Regions from separate parts of the Homo sapiens genome. Here regions 2, 3 and 4 are each linked to region 1. Evidence: promoter capture Hi-C in human tissues and cell types (Jung and others, 2019). All regions are on one chromosome and are shown on one strand. Each heading gives the region's core, a stretch centred on a gene start or on the middle of the fragment in contact. The rest is flanking DNA. Distances are from core to core; before and after follow the strand shown.

Region 1 (3,109 bases), core at 343-2,842:
ATTACACTCAAAAGTGAAAATACCAAACTGTTAGATTAGAAGCTTATTACTATTAAAATTGATTTGTGGACTGGGTGCGGTGGCTCAGGCCTGTAATCCCAGCACTTTGGGTGCTGAGGTGGGTGGATCACCTGAGATCAGGAGTTCGAGACCAGCCTGACCAACATCCAACATGGTGAAACCCCGTCTCTACTAAAAACACAAAAATTAGCCGGGCGTGGTAGTGGGCGCCTGTAATCCCAGCTACTTGGGAGGCTGAGGCAGGAGAATTAGTTTAACCCAGGAGGCGAAGGTTGCAGTGATCCGAGGTCACACCACTGCACTCCAGCCTGGGTGACACAGTGAGACTCCATCTCAAAAAAAAAAGAAAAATCAAATCCTTTACTATCAAGATTGACTGAATCAAGTATCTACAAAGAGTCGAGAGTGCCAGATGGAAATACCTTTAATACTTGCATCTTCCCCACACTCTCCAGGGCCTCCGAATGGGCAGGGAAGAGGAAGGGTCATGGAGAAACAGAAACTTAAGCTGTGTCCTTTAAAACACACAAGAATCCCTTCAAGGAGAATACTTACTTCTTGAGAAACTGCTCAAATTTTAAAAATTACAAACAACAATCTATGGTTTGGAAAATGTTGGAAAAACAGAAAAGCATCGGCCTAAATTTAACTGAGAAACTTTGTAGGCTGTTAATTTTGCAAACCACACATCCAGCATTCTTGCTTTGTTCTCTACACATAGACTGACACCTTTACCCCCAGAGGTCAGGCCCTCGATTGAGTTTTACCTCATGGGAATGAGTTCCCAGAAAGACAACAATGACGCTCGCTGGTGAGTCTCTCTAAGCTGCGTCTGCCAAGTTCCCAGAAGCCTGAAAGATACAAGAGTATGTATAAATATCTGCTTCTCCAGGCTAGGCGCGGTTGCTCACGTCTGTAATCCCAGCACTTTGGGAGGCCGAGGCGGGTGGATCGCGAGGTCAGGAGTTCAAGACCAGCCTGGCCAACATGGTGAAACCCCGTCTCTACTAAAAATACAAAAATTAGCCGGGCGTGGTGTTGGGCGCCTGTAATCCGAGCTACTCGGGAGGCCGGGGCAGAACTGCTTGAACCCGGGAGGCAGAGGTTGCAGTGAGCCGAAATCGCGCCACTGCACTCCAGCCTGGGCGACAGAGCGAGACTCTGTCTCAAATAAATAAATAAATATCTGATTCTCTCCCACTTCACAGGAAAATAAAAAATTGCAATGCTCCCAAACCCGGGGCACTTCTAACTACTTGATATGACAGCAAGGTCAACGTGGAAGGTTTTTCAAAATCTTTCGTTCAGACCACAGAGGACTTAAGCAGGACCGCTGCTCGCCAGGGTGCTCAGATTTTCATGCATAAGAGTCACGACCAGATGGCTCATCCCTGAGATATTCGTGGACTGGGAGGCGAGCAGGGAGCACAGGCGAGTCCTGGCGGACAGTCGCGAAGACCCCGCACGCGCCCTGGGCACTCCGCTATCCGGCCAGCGTCCGCACTCACCCGCTAGTCGGGCGCAGGGCTAGCGAGATACTTCGCAGCACGGAGGCCGTCATGGCTACCCTCGCCGCTTCCGGGCGTGCGCCCCTCCACAGTCCGGCCCGCGGTGCCCCCTGCTGAGGTCCGGCAGACCAGGCGCCCAGCGCTCAGGCGTTCCGGCTGCGTGGGCTGGGACGCGCCTGTCCCCGCCCCCGACGCAGCCCCGCCTAGGGTGTCAGCTGCGCACACACGAGGGCCTTGCGTTTCACGCGGCTCGGGGTCCTCCCTTCCGTCCCCGCCCTGTGCTGGGAGCGCGCCTCTGCAGCGGGCACAGTCTAGCCAGTCAGGCCCTAGCCGGTTGGTCGGTCTGCGCCCTCGCGCGGGCCTCGGCTCCGCAGTGCAGCCGGAGCGGCCGAGGGGGCGTCCCTCTGCTCCTCCGAGTCCAAATGTTCATGTCTAGGCAAACGGCCCCGATCTTCTAATAAACGCGTCCGCCCCAGCCTCCCCCACCAGGGTTGGCTCGTCCCCCGCATTCGTTCGAGTCCGAAGCCCGGATCGCATTCCGGCGCCGGCGCGGAGCCCGGCGCTCGCAAGATGCCCAATAGCGCGTGTTGATGAATGACGGAAGCTAGTTAATAAGTCGGACTCAGACTGGCGAGGCAGAGCTGGTGACGGGCGGTCCACGCCACCTGGGCCCCGCCTGCCTCTGCGGGCGGCCCGGGTTGCAACTGCAGGCCCCGCTCGCTGTCCGCCGTCCAGGCGAACCGCCCTTTCTGGGGCGCCCGCGCCCGGGCCCGACCCGAAGCCCCTGCCAGCGGAGGAGCCGGGGCGGCCCAGTCCGCGTGGGGAGCGGTTTCCCGCCGGGGCGATTTGGCAGGTGCGCGCCGTGACTTCCGGCGTTGCCCGGGAGCCGCCTGAGGAGGAGCGGCGCAGGGGATGCGGCTGTGGTGGCGGCGGCGGCGGCCGAGCGCGGGTGGCGGCTGTGGCGGCGGAGGGGGGCGCGGGCCGGCGATGGCGCGGCGGCCCTGAGGGCGCGGGGCGGGCGGCGGCCGGAGGGCGGGTGGCGCGGGAGGAAGCGGCGGCGGTGGCTCCATGGCCCGGGCGCGCTGAGGGACCCGGCGCTCGCCTCAGCCCGGCGGCGGCGGCGGCCGAACAATGAAGCTCCTGAAGCCGACCTGGGTCAACCACAATGGTGAGTGCGCGCAGGGGTCGCGGGAGGCCGAGCCCGGAGTCGGGTCGGGGTCTGGAGTCGAGTCGGGGCGCGCGCAAGTCCTGCCTGTCTCGCCCCTGACGCCCGGTACCCGGTGCCCAAGCCAAGAAGCCGGCGGGAGCGGACTTTGTCCTCAGCGCGGAGAGGCTGGTGAGCCCCAGCACGTGCTCCGGGTTGACCGCAGCGAGGGCCATCTTCGCCCCTGGCTCTTGCTCTGAGTCTTCCGCTGCCCACCTGTGGTCCTTGGAGGGGCCGCGGCCTGGCTCCCAGGAGCGGGCCTTGGTGCCAGCCAGTGCCTTCCACTGGTCTGCATCGCCCGAGAAGTGCTCAGACGGTCCTGAAGGTGAAACCGGGATGAAATCCCCCTTGTGGCCTTTCAGTGGCAGGATGAAGA
Region 2 (3,109 bases), core at 339-2,838, 240 kb after region 1:
GGGACCCGAGTTTCTCTGTCAGCAGCCACACTGTTGGGTGGTGTCGGGTTTGGGTGCCATGGTCAAGTGAGCCTTTGTTATTTTGTTTCCGGTCTCTTAGAGAGTTCAACCTCAGGACCCACCCCTCTCCAGCTCTGTATGTGAGTTTGGTGAAGGGGCTGGAATTCTTTATCCTCAGCCCCCATCCCTTTGCATTGGGTATCTGCGCTTTGTGCCATGGTCTTTGGGTAACTAACTTGTCACAGTCGGCTTGTGACTGGAGTGGCACAGCAGTGAGCTGTGGCCTCGCTCATGCACCTCTTTTCCACATGCGGCTACTGAGGGTGGGCGCGAGTGGCACGTGTGCTGCCAGGTGAGGCCTTCAGCCTCTGCCTTTCCTGGGAACTATTTGAAGGAACCCAGTATTGAGCACCAGGCCACAAGCCCGAGCTTCTTGTTGGAGGACATCCATGTTACTGGGCATGGTGGTACGTGAAAGTGGGGGCCTTTGATGGGGCGTCCCACCCTGAGCAGAGTCTGCAGGTTGCTGGAGGGAGTGCGGCCAGGTCATACCTTACTGTGGCCTGGCACACGTGGCTGCTGCCTTGTAGATTTGTCTGTGTGCTGGAAAATCCATACTTGATCAATCCTGTGTGTATTTTATTCACATTGTAACTCCTCTGATATTAGGGTGTTTTTAAAAATTGCTGAGCCGTGGTGGAAGTGGCCATGCTTTTGTTTCTTACTGGCATATAAAATAATAGCAGGACAGCTGAGACTCACTGTGTGGGAGAGCAGCATCTCTCATCTGGTGCCTGCAGGGCTGATGGCTGAGTCCAGTTCCTTGTGTGATTCATGATGCTTCTACTACACCCTGCCGTGTGGGAGACAGACACTGTCAGCTCAGGTGTGAAGGGGGTAGGAGGATACTCGCCAGTGCAGGGGTCCAATCAGATGGACGACATCCAATCTGTATTTGGGGCACACGATAGCAGGAATCCACTTAGCCATAGGGCTGGGCCAGCAGCAGCCTGAGCAGGGGAGCTTGCTAACTCACACGGGGGGCACCCCAGCTCAGCCATTCACTGTCTCTCTCCATGTGGGCTAGGGGTGTCACCGCTGTGAACCTCGTTATCCCATCCATACAATGGACATCATGTTTCCTCCCGACCAAGTGGTCCATGGCAGGTGCCTGGCATCCGGTGGGCGCTTCTTTCAGGTTGTGCAGCACAGCACGCCAACCAGCTATCCTGGAGCTTGTGGCGGAATCTCAGCTTCAGTTTTCTCTTCTTTTTTTGTTTTATTATTATTTTTCTTGAAACGGAGTCTCACTCTGTCACTCAGGCTGGAGTGCAGTGGCGCGATCTTGGCTCACTGCAACCTCCGCCTCCCAGCCTCGAGCGATTCTCCTGCCTCAGCCTCCAGAGTAGCTGGGATTACAGGTGCCTGCCACCACGCCCGGCTCATTTTTGTATTTTTAATAGATACAGGGTTTTACCATGTTGGGCAGGCTGTTCTCAAACTCCTGACCTCAGGTGATCTTGAGAGGTGACGCCACCTGGACTTCTTGGGTCGGGTGGGGACTTGGAGAAATTTTGTGTCCAGCTAAAGGATTGTAAGTACACCAATCAGCACTCTGCATCTAGCTAAAGGATTGTAAATGCACCAATCAGCACTCTGTAAAAAACGTACCAATCAGCACTCTGTAAAATGGGCCAATCAGCACTCTGTAGAATGGACCAATTAGCGCTCTGTAAAATGGGCCAATCAGCAGGATGTGGGTGGGGCCAAATAAGGGAATAAAAGCTGGCCATGCGAGCCAGCAGTGCAACCTGTTCGGGTCTTTTTCCATGTTGTGGGAGCTTTGTTCTTTTGCTTTTCACAATCAGTCTTGCTGCTGCTCACTCATTGAGTCTGCACTAGGTTTAAAAGCTGTAACACTCACTGCGAAGGTCTGGAGCTTCATTTGTGAAGTCAGCCAGATCACGAACCCACCAGAAGGAAGAAACTCACACCTCTCAACATCTGAAGGAACAAACTCTGGACACAACATCTTTAAGAGCTGTAACACTCACCATGAGGGTCTGTGGCTTCATTCTTGAAGTCAGTGAGACCAAGAACCCACCGGAAGGAATAAATTACAGACACAATCCGCCTGCCTTGGCCTCCCAAAGTGCTGGGATTACAGGCGTGAGCCACCACGCCCAGCCTTCAGTTTTCCCTTGTATAAAACAGGGATACTACCATGTCTTCTGGGGTGCTGGCTGTCCTTGCTGACCATGCTAGTGGGCACGGGCCTGCCAGTGCTCCATGTCCTGGCGCGTGGCTAGTGGACTCACCCCATCCTGTCTTTCAGCTTGGATCTGGAGGACGCTCCAGAGGGGCCCCGCCGCTCCATTCCTCCTGTAGTGCAGAGGGCTCCAGATCCCAGCAGCTGAGCCCAACAGAGATGTGTGTCCCTGCAGGCCTCAACACCAGAGGAACTGGGTGGGAACATGGCAGTTATACTCCACCTTAAACGGCATTCCGGCCATGCTGCATGGACCTGTTGAAAGGGCCAAGAGTGCACATGGTACCAGGTGTCCCACAAGGGAAGCTAGGACTGCTGGTGCCCCACTTCAAGTCTGTCCACTCGCGTGATACCTGCAAGAGTCTCTGAAATGGGCTTGTCCTTGGATGGTTCCTCTCCTTCACGGGAGGCCTGAGGAGCCTTGTGGTTGGTGGGGAAGCAGGTGGGGCTTTGAGGAGGTGATTCGCCACAGAAGATGAACTTGAGTCCCTACCCTTCTCTTCAGCCCCACATCACATCCTGACTGCTCTCTGCTTCTTCAGTGTCTAGTTGAGGCCCCCATGTCCTGGCCCTGCTGCTGAGTAAAGGGCCAGCCTAGAAGGCTGACAGGTGCTAGAGCTCCAATAGGAGTGGACCCACAGTGGCCTGTGGCAGAGTCTGGGGGCCCACCAGTGCCATAGGTGAAGCTTTGTGATGCGGCCAGTTCACCGTTTTGCTCTGAATCCATGGTGGCGGGTACTAGGGACCCTGCTGCCTGTCTGGGTCAGAATCTCTGGTGACAGTGAGTGCTCTAGCACAAAAGGAAAAGAGAAGGAGAAAGAAGACACCCTGAAGTGGCCA
Region 3 (3,109 bases), core at 217-2,716, 220 kb after region 1:
AGAGGGCTGTGTTAGCCATGAAAGACCGTCCAGAGCTGTCTCTTCCCTCTCATTGATACACGGCTGTTGCCCACCCCTGAGGAGAACCAGAAACTTGGCAAAAATATTAGATTCTGGAAGTCACTGAAGGTGCCTGGTCCAAAGTGCAAAGAGAACAGTGCTGGCGTTCCAAACTGCTGTTGCATGGGAAATGTACTCTTTGGAAAACTGTCTTTCCACCCTATTTGTAAGTGTTTTTGTATGTGAGACACCTATAATTGGAGGAGGGGTGGCACAGCCAGTCTTTTGTTGGTCTTTCCTTCAGATTGTGGTTCTGAGTGTCATCCGGTGTGAAGGCACGTGGCTCCACAGCTCTGGCTGTGGACTGTGCCACAGCAGTGGCAGTGCTCTCTTCTAGTAAGAGGCTGCTGGAAGCCCCTGCGGTGTCTTCATTAGAGAAGTGGAGCCATATTTGCTATTAGTGGCTTTAAGAGACAAATCTAAAAGGAGACATTCATTTCAAAATGCCTGGTGCACTGGTCATTGGAGCTGAGTAAGAGTCTGTAGCATATTTGATATGAGAGAAAAACTAATTGTCAAAACAGAGCAAACAGAATTTCCTGAAATTAACTTTGAAAACCCTTCCTTTGTTACATTAAGAAGTCTCCCATTTTCTCTGTGTCTATTCCAGACCATCTTGGAGGAGTCCTTCCCTTCTGTTTAGCTTCAAAGATACAGTCTTGAATTGACTTTAATCAAGTTCTTTCAAATGCTTTTTAAAACCAGGTGGTACAGACAGCATTGTCAGAAACACGGGATCCTGAAGAGATTTCGGTCACTGTCAAAGCCTTTATGACAGCCGACCTGCCTAATGAACTGATTGAACTGCTGGAGAAGATAGTTCTGGATAACTCTGTCTTCAGCGAGCACAGGTGAGGCTATGCCAGGGGTAGCTGTGGACACAGGCAGATTCAAAACATCTGCTTGATACTCATCTTCTGTTACAATCTCGTACCGCTTCACCCATCCAGCCTGCCCATTGGCTGCTCCCCAGACATGCCAATCTTCTTACCACCTCCTCTACCTCAATCTAGCCCTTCCCTTATTAGCTCCTGCCTGTCTCAGAGCCCAGCCTCAGTTTCACATTTTCTAGGAGCCTGCGCTCCTCTTACTGCTCTGGCCCACACTGTCCTTTAACACAATGCTCAGAGAAAGGGAGCTGGCATTTTATGAAGGTCTCATGTGGCCTAAGGATGTGTTGAACTCTTCAAATCATGGTGAACAAAGCTTGGAGAAAGGTGGCAGGAGAACCAGATCTGGGCATGTATCAGGGAAGACTTGCCCGAAGTATAATGTAGAAGCCAGATGAGCAGGAGCTGTGGCAGGGGCAGCAGCACAGGCCCGGCACTATAGAGGTGCGAGTGCGTGCTTCCGATGGACCGGCACTATAGAGGTGAGAGTGCACGCTTCCACACGGACCGGCAGTATAGAGGTGGGAGTGTGTGTTTCGGCATGGACCAGCACTATAGAGGTGGGAGCGCGTGCTTCTTTTGCATGGGCAGGCACCATAGAGGTAAGAGTGCGTGCTTCCGCATGGGCCAGCCACCTGGGGTTCCTCTCCACTTCAAAATTCACCATCAGAGATTCTGTGTCAGATTTTAATCAACTCACATCATAAGTGCAGCTGTAAAGATTTAGTTATGAGATTTATTTTGTAGGCCAGAAAGGCTATCAAGGGCTGTAGTATTATAGAGAGGAATTTGTGTGTGTGTTTTTAAACTTGGAGATGCTATATGGTAATGGCATATGGAATGTGAAATTATATTTAATGGAATCATAAACCCTGACTAATGACAGGATGCCAGGATTAAGGTGCCTGAGGTGGCTACGATATTCTGTCTTGCTGTCTGATCAACCTCCTTTGATAGTTGTTAGTTTGTGTGTACTTCCAGGCACTTACAGGTGGCTGTAGCTCTGCTGTCTTCTTAAACACTTGCTTCTCAAACATGCAGGTAACCTCAAGTTCGTGCTCTTCTTTCATTGATGATTTCACCAGACAGTTTTATGCGTAGGTAAAAATAGCCTTGGCTGGGCGTAGTGGCTCACGCCTGTAATCCCAGCACTTTGGGAGGCCAGGAGTTTGAGACCAGCCTAGCCAGCATGGGTGAAACCCTGTCTCTACTAAAAATAAAAATTCAGCCAGGCATGATGGCAGGTGCCTGTAATCCCAGCTACTCGGGAGGCTGAGGCGGGAGAATCGCTTGAGTCTGGGAGGTGGAGGTTGCAGTGAGCCGAGATGGCACCACTATACTCTAGCCTGGGTGACAGAGCGAGACTCCATCTCAAAAAAAAAAAAAAAAGCAAAATATATTATTTTTAGAGTATATACTTGGAAGAATATACTTATGACCTAATAAATTCTTAAGCCAGTCACAGAAACCAGAAACCATAAATAAACCTTTAGTGAAAAACCAATAAGACTGTATTAAACTTAAGCACTTTATCGTAAAGAAGATGGACAAATGAGAAGCTACAAATGCGGGGAAGATATTTGCAACACAACCAACAAAAAATTAGTAGGGAAAAGTTGTAATAAAAGACAAACACAAGCAACCCAATGAGAAACCAAGCAGAGAGCTTGAGCACACCCTCCGGTGAGAGGAAGGGCAGCTTGTGAATTCAGCCTCATCAGCCACCAAGGAGGCACAGAGTGAGGCCACAGTGCATCATCCGATGCTTTGTTACTCCTGCCAGAGCAGCAGGAACCCCACTCTCCTAATCAGTGCTGATGAGGATGTTGAACAGCTGGACCTCTGACGTGCCCCTGCTGGGAATGTGCGTTACATTTGGAAACAGTTTGGTGAAAAAAGATGCACACAGCCAGCAATTTCCTCTCTTCCTTATGAGCCCTAAAGGAACTCAGCTTATTTGTATGAGGAGATGTGCAGGGATACTCAAGACAAAGCTCTAAGAGCGATCCAGATAACCATCAATAAGTAGGCTGTAGTACAGTCATACAGTGGAATACCAGATAGCAGTAGAAATGAACACTGTACATGGATGACCCTTAGCACCCAACTTTAAAATTCTTTTTTATAAAACCACCATACAGTAAAAATGACCTTCTGGA
Region 4 (3,109 bases), core at 380-2,879, 180 kb after region 1:
AGAAGTGATTTTCTGGAAATGGGTTTCTGTGAACACTGTTGCCTTGGTGACCGAGACCGCGGTCTACCACTGGAGCATGGAAGGTGACTCCCAGCCCATGAAGATGTTTGATAGACATACCAGTCTGGTGGGCTGCCAGGTGATTCACTACCGGACTGATGAGTACCAGAAGTGGCTGCTGCTCGTAGGCATCTCGGCTCAGGTAAGCCTTGAGCTGCCTTTAGGGGCTGGTCTGATGTAACTTCAAAGCCCAATATTAGAATGGAGTGGTTAAATCATTAGAAGTTGGTTATAGGGCCAGGTGCGGTGGCTCATGCCTGTAATCCCAGCACTTTGGGAGGCCGAGGCGGGAGGATCTCTTGAGGTCAGGGGTTTGAGGTTGCAGTGAGCCAAGATTGCGCCACTGCACTCCAGCCTGGGCAACAGAGCAAGACCCTGTCTCAAAAAAAAAAAAAGTTGGTTATAGGTATAAGGCAAAAGTAGGCCTGGAACTGAGAGAAATAGAGATTACAAAGAAATCTGAACTTGGATCAAATAATCTTAATTTACCTTTGGCCTATTAACTACTACTGCATTCCTTCAGGTTACTGATGTTCATTGTATAAACTATTTCTAGCACTGTTTTGAGAGGTTGTTGAGGAATTTTATAGAGTAATTTGGAACCCATAGTTTTATAAGAAGTAGTCCTTCGGGAAGACGAGAGAGGGCTAGACATCCTGCCCACTGCGTCCCAGCCAGGGCAGGGAGGGACCGTGGCCCATGGGGTCAAAGGGCCCCGATGTGCACAGCTGCCGCAGGGAGGGAGGTCTTGGGGAAATGGGCGGTCAGCTGGCCTGTCCTTGGTAATTGCACACACTGCCCGCACACACCACGGCCCACACACAACGCGGCCTTCCTGGCATCTCTGGCCCCCGTGTGTCTGCACTGTAGGTATTGTATCAAAGTCCCAGCATCTAGATGGTTAACATAGAGCTGCTTCTGTGTAAATGCTGCTTATTTGAAACACTAAAAAGCATTTAATTTTATGGGAAAAAAAAGAAGTAGTTCTTAGACTGTATTTTAAGGACTTACTGGAATGTTACTAACTCATATTCTATTATACTGAAAGCAGTATCTTTTTGTCCTCCCTTTTTTTTTTTTTTTTTTTGAGACGGAGTCTTACTCTGTCACCCAAGCTGGAGTGCAGTGGCGCGATCTCGGCTCACTGCAAGCTCTGCCTCCTGGGTTCATGCCATTCTCCTGCCTCAGCCTCCCCAGTAGCTGGGACTACAGGCGCCCACCACCATGCCTGGCTAATTTTTTGTATTTTTAGTAGAGATGGGGTTTCTCCGTGTTAGCCAGGATGGCCTTGATCTCCTGACCTCGTGATCCGCCCGCCTTGGCCTCCCAAAGTGCTGGGATTACAGGCGTGAGCCACCGCGCCCGTCCCCTTTTTTCATTCCTGGTGGCTAATTCAGTCACCAGATACTTGAGGACTACAGGATGTTTGCACTTGGGACATAGATCTTCGTCATTCAATCCTGATGACCAGTGAATGATTTGTCTATAGCCTAGTGGGGAAGGTGTATCTGCACAATTCTAGTAATTAAGGAACTGTCACATGTTTGAAGAGAATACTGTGGGAGCCATGAGAGAGCAGCTTAAGTCAAGACAGCCTGCAACACAGGGGATCTAAGATGCATTTTGCTAGCTATTAAAGTGCACTTTGGAAGGACACAGTGTATGCAAAGGCACAGAATGGAGGAGAATGGCTCTTTCTGGGAGTCTGGGGTCACCCACCGTGGATGATACCTATAGGTAAGCATATTAGGTAGCTAGAGGGGCAAGACTTAGAGAGATGATTGGGGGCCAGACTGCAGGCAATGGGAATTATGTAGCAGGTTTTGAGTGAGAGTGATGTAATTAATTTTCCTTCTTAGCAGCATAGTGGAATTGAAAAAATGCTATCATTGATGTTGAAGATGGACCACCATGAAGACTGGAGGCCAGGAGACTAGTTGAAAGGCAGATACAGGAACAAAACCATGTAGTCTGTTCTGGAATAGAGACATGTATGAGAAAGGTTAAGAATACGCAAACAGGGAAGGAGTACTTCCATTTCTGGAACGCTCTGTTCCATTTCTGCAACCCCCAGAAGATATGAAGCATGTGTGACTAGATGAAGGCAGTGGCATTGCAGATATACAGGGGAGACAAGACCTAAGACTTTGGCTTACTCACCCTGATAAAGGGCATCTACAACAAATACAACTAACATCTTACTTCATGTTGAAAAACTGAAAGCTTTCCCCCAAGGATCAGAAACAAGACAAGGATGTCTTCTCTTGCTACTTCTGTTCAGCTTTGGACTAGAGATTCTAGCCAGGGCAATTAGGTGAGAAAAACATAAAAGGCATCTAGATTTAGGCTGGGCACGGTGGCTCACGCCTGTAATCCCAGCACTTTGGGAGGCCAAGGCGGGCGGATCACGAGGTCAGGAGATTGAGACCATCCTGGCTAACACGGTGAAACCCCGTCTCTACTAAAAATACAAAAAATTAGCCGGGCACGGTGGCGGGCGCCTGTAGTCCCAGCTACTCGGGAGGCTGAGGCAGGAGAATGGCATGAACCCGGGAGGCGGAGCTTGCAGTGACCGAGATAGCACCACCACAGTCCGGCCTGGGCAAAAGAGCGAGACTCCGTCTCAGAAACAAAACAAAACAAAAAGGCATCTAGATTTAAATGGAAGAATTAAAGCTGTCTCTATTTGCAGATGACATAAGCTTGTATATGGAAATCCTAAGGAATCTAGTAAAAAACTATTAGAACTAATAAACAAATTGAACAAGGTTACAGAATACAATATCAGTTTGCAAACATCAATTGTGTTCCTAAACATTTGCAACGAACAATCCAAAAATGAAATCAGGAAAGCAATCTCATTAATAATAACATCAAAAAGAATAAAATACTTAGAGGTAAATTTAATTTAAAAAGTGCAAAAGTTACATTCTGAAAACTACAAAACATGTTTGGAAGTAATTAAAGAAGATCTAAATCGAAAAATATTGCATGTTCATGGACTCGAAGATTTAATACTTTTAGGATGGAAGTACTCCTCAAATTGGTC

The links. The method cuts DNA at HindIII sites, captures the fragments that hold promoters and counts their contacts. A contact is called where the count stands out against the background at its distance.
Region 2: a fragment that was not itself captured here is called in contact with the fragment with the promoter of MRPL40 in region 1 in 1 of the 25 tissues and cell types used here (dorsolateral prefrontal cortex).
Region 3: a fragment that was not itself captured here is called in contact with the fragment with the promoter of MRPL40 in region 1 in 1 of the 25 tissues and cell types used here (H1 embryonic stem cells).
Region 4: a fragment that was not itself captured here is called in contact with the fragment with the promoter of MRPL40 in region 1 in 1 of the 25 tissues and cell types used here (aorta).

Annotation. Positions count from the first base shown.
Region 1 is chr22:19,431,028-19,434,136 of GRCh38, reverse strand. MRPL40 (mitochondrial ribosomal protein L40) reads right to left here and starts at 1,592. Exons shown (of 4, transcript NM_003776.4): 1 at 1,530-1,592; 2 at 789-872. The coding sequence starts at 1,582. It overlaps HIRA (histone cell cycle regulator), which reads left to right and starts at 2,404. Exons shown (of 25, transcript NM_003325.4): 1 at 2,404-2,697. The coding sequence starts at 2,661. RefSeq lists silencers at 1,518-1,827, 2,118-2,517 and an enhancer at 2,802-3,109. The HindIII fragment of the contact is 11,001 bases long and covers 1-3,109 here.
Region 2 is chr22:19,192,669-19,195,777 of GRCh38, reverse strand. All of the region lies in intron 26 of CLTCL1 (clathrin heavy chain like 1), which reads left to right. Among named protein-coding and RNA genes, the nearest start is that of SLC25A1, 15 kb to the right of the region's middle. The HindIII fragment of the contact is 7,428 bases long and covers 1-3,109 here.
Region 3 is chr22:19,213,913-19,217,021 of GRCh38, reverse strand. CLTCL1 (clathrin heavy chain like 1) reads left to right here. Exons shown (of 33, transcript NM_007098.4): 19 at 766-911. Among named protein-coding and RNA genes, the nearest start is that of SLC25A1, 37 kb to the right of the region's middle. The HindIII fragment of the contact is 5,984 bases long and covers 1-3,109 here.
Region 4 is chr22:19,251,052-19,254,160 of GRCh38, reverse strand. It overlaps CLTCL1 (clathrin heavy chain like 1), which reads left to right. Exons shown (of 33, transcript NM_007098.4): 3 at 1-202. It also overlaps the pseudogene DVL1P1. Among named protein-coding and RNA genes, the nearest start is that of CLTCL1, 39 kb to the left of the region's middle. The HindIII fragment of the contact is 5,735 bases long and covers 1-3,109 here.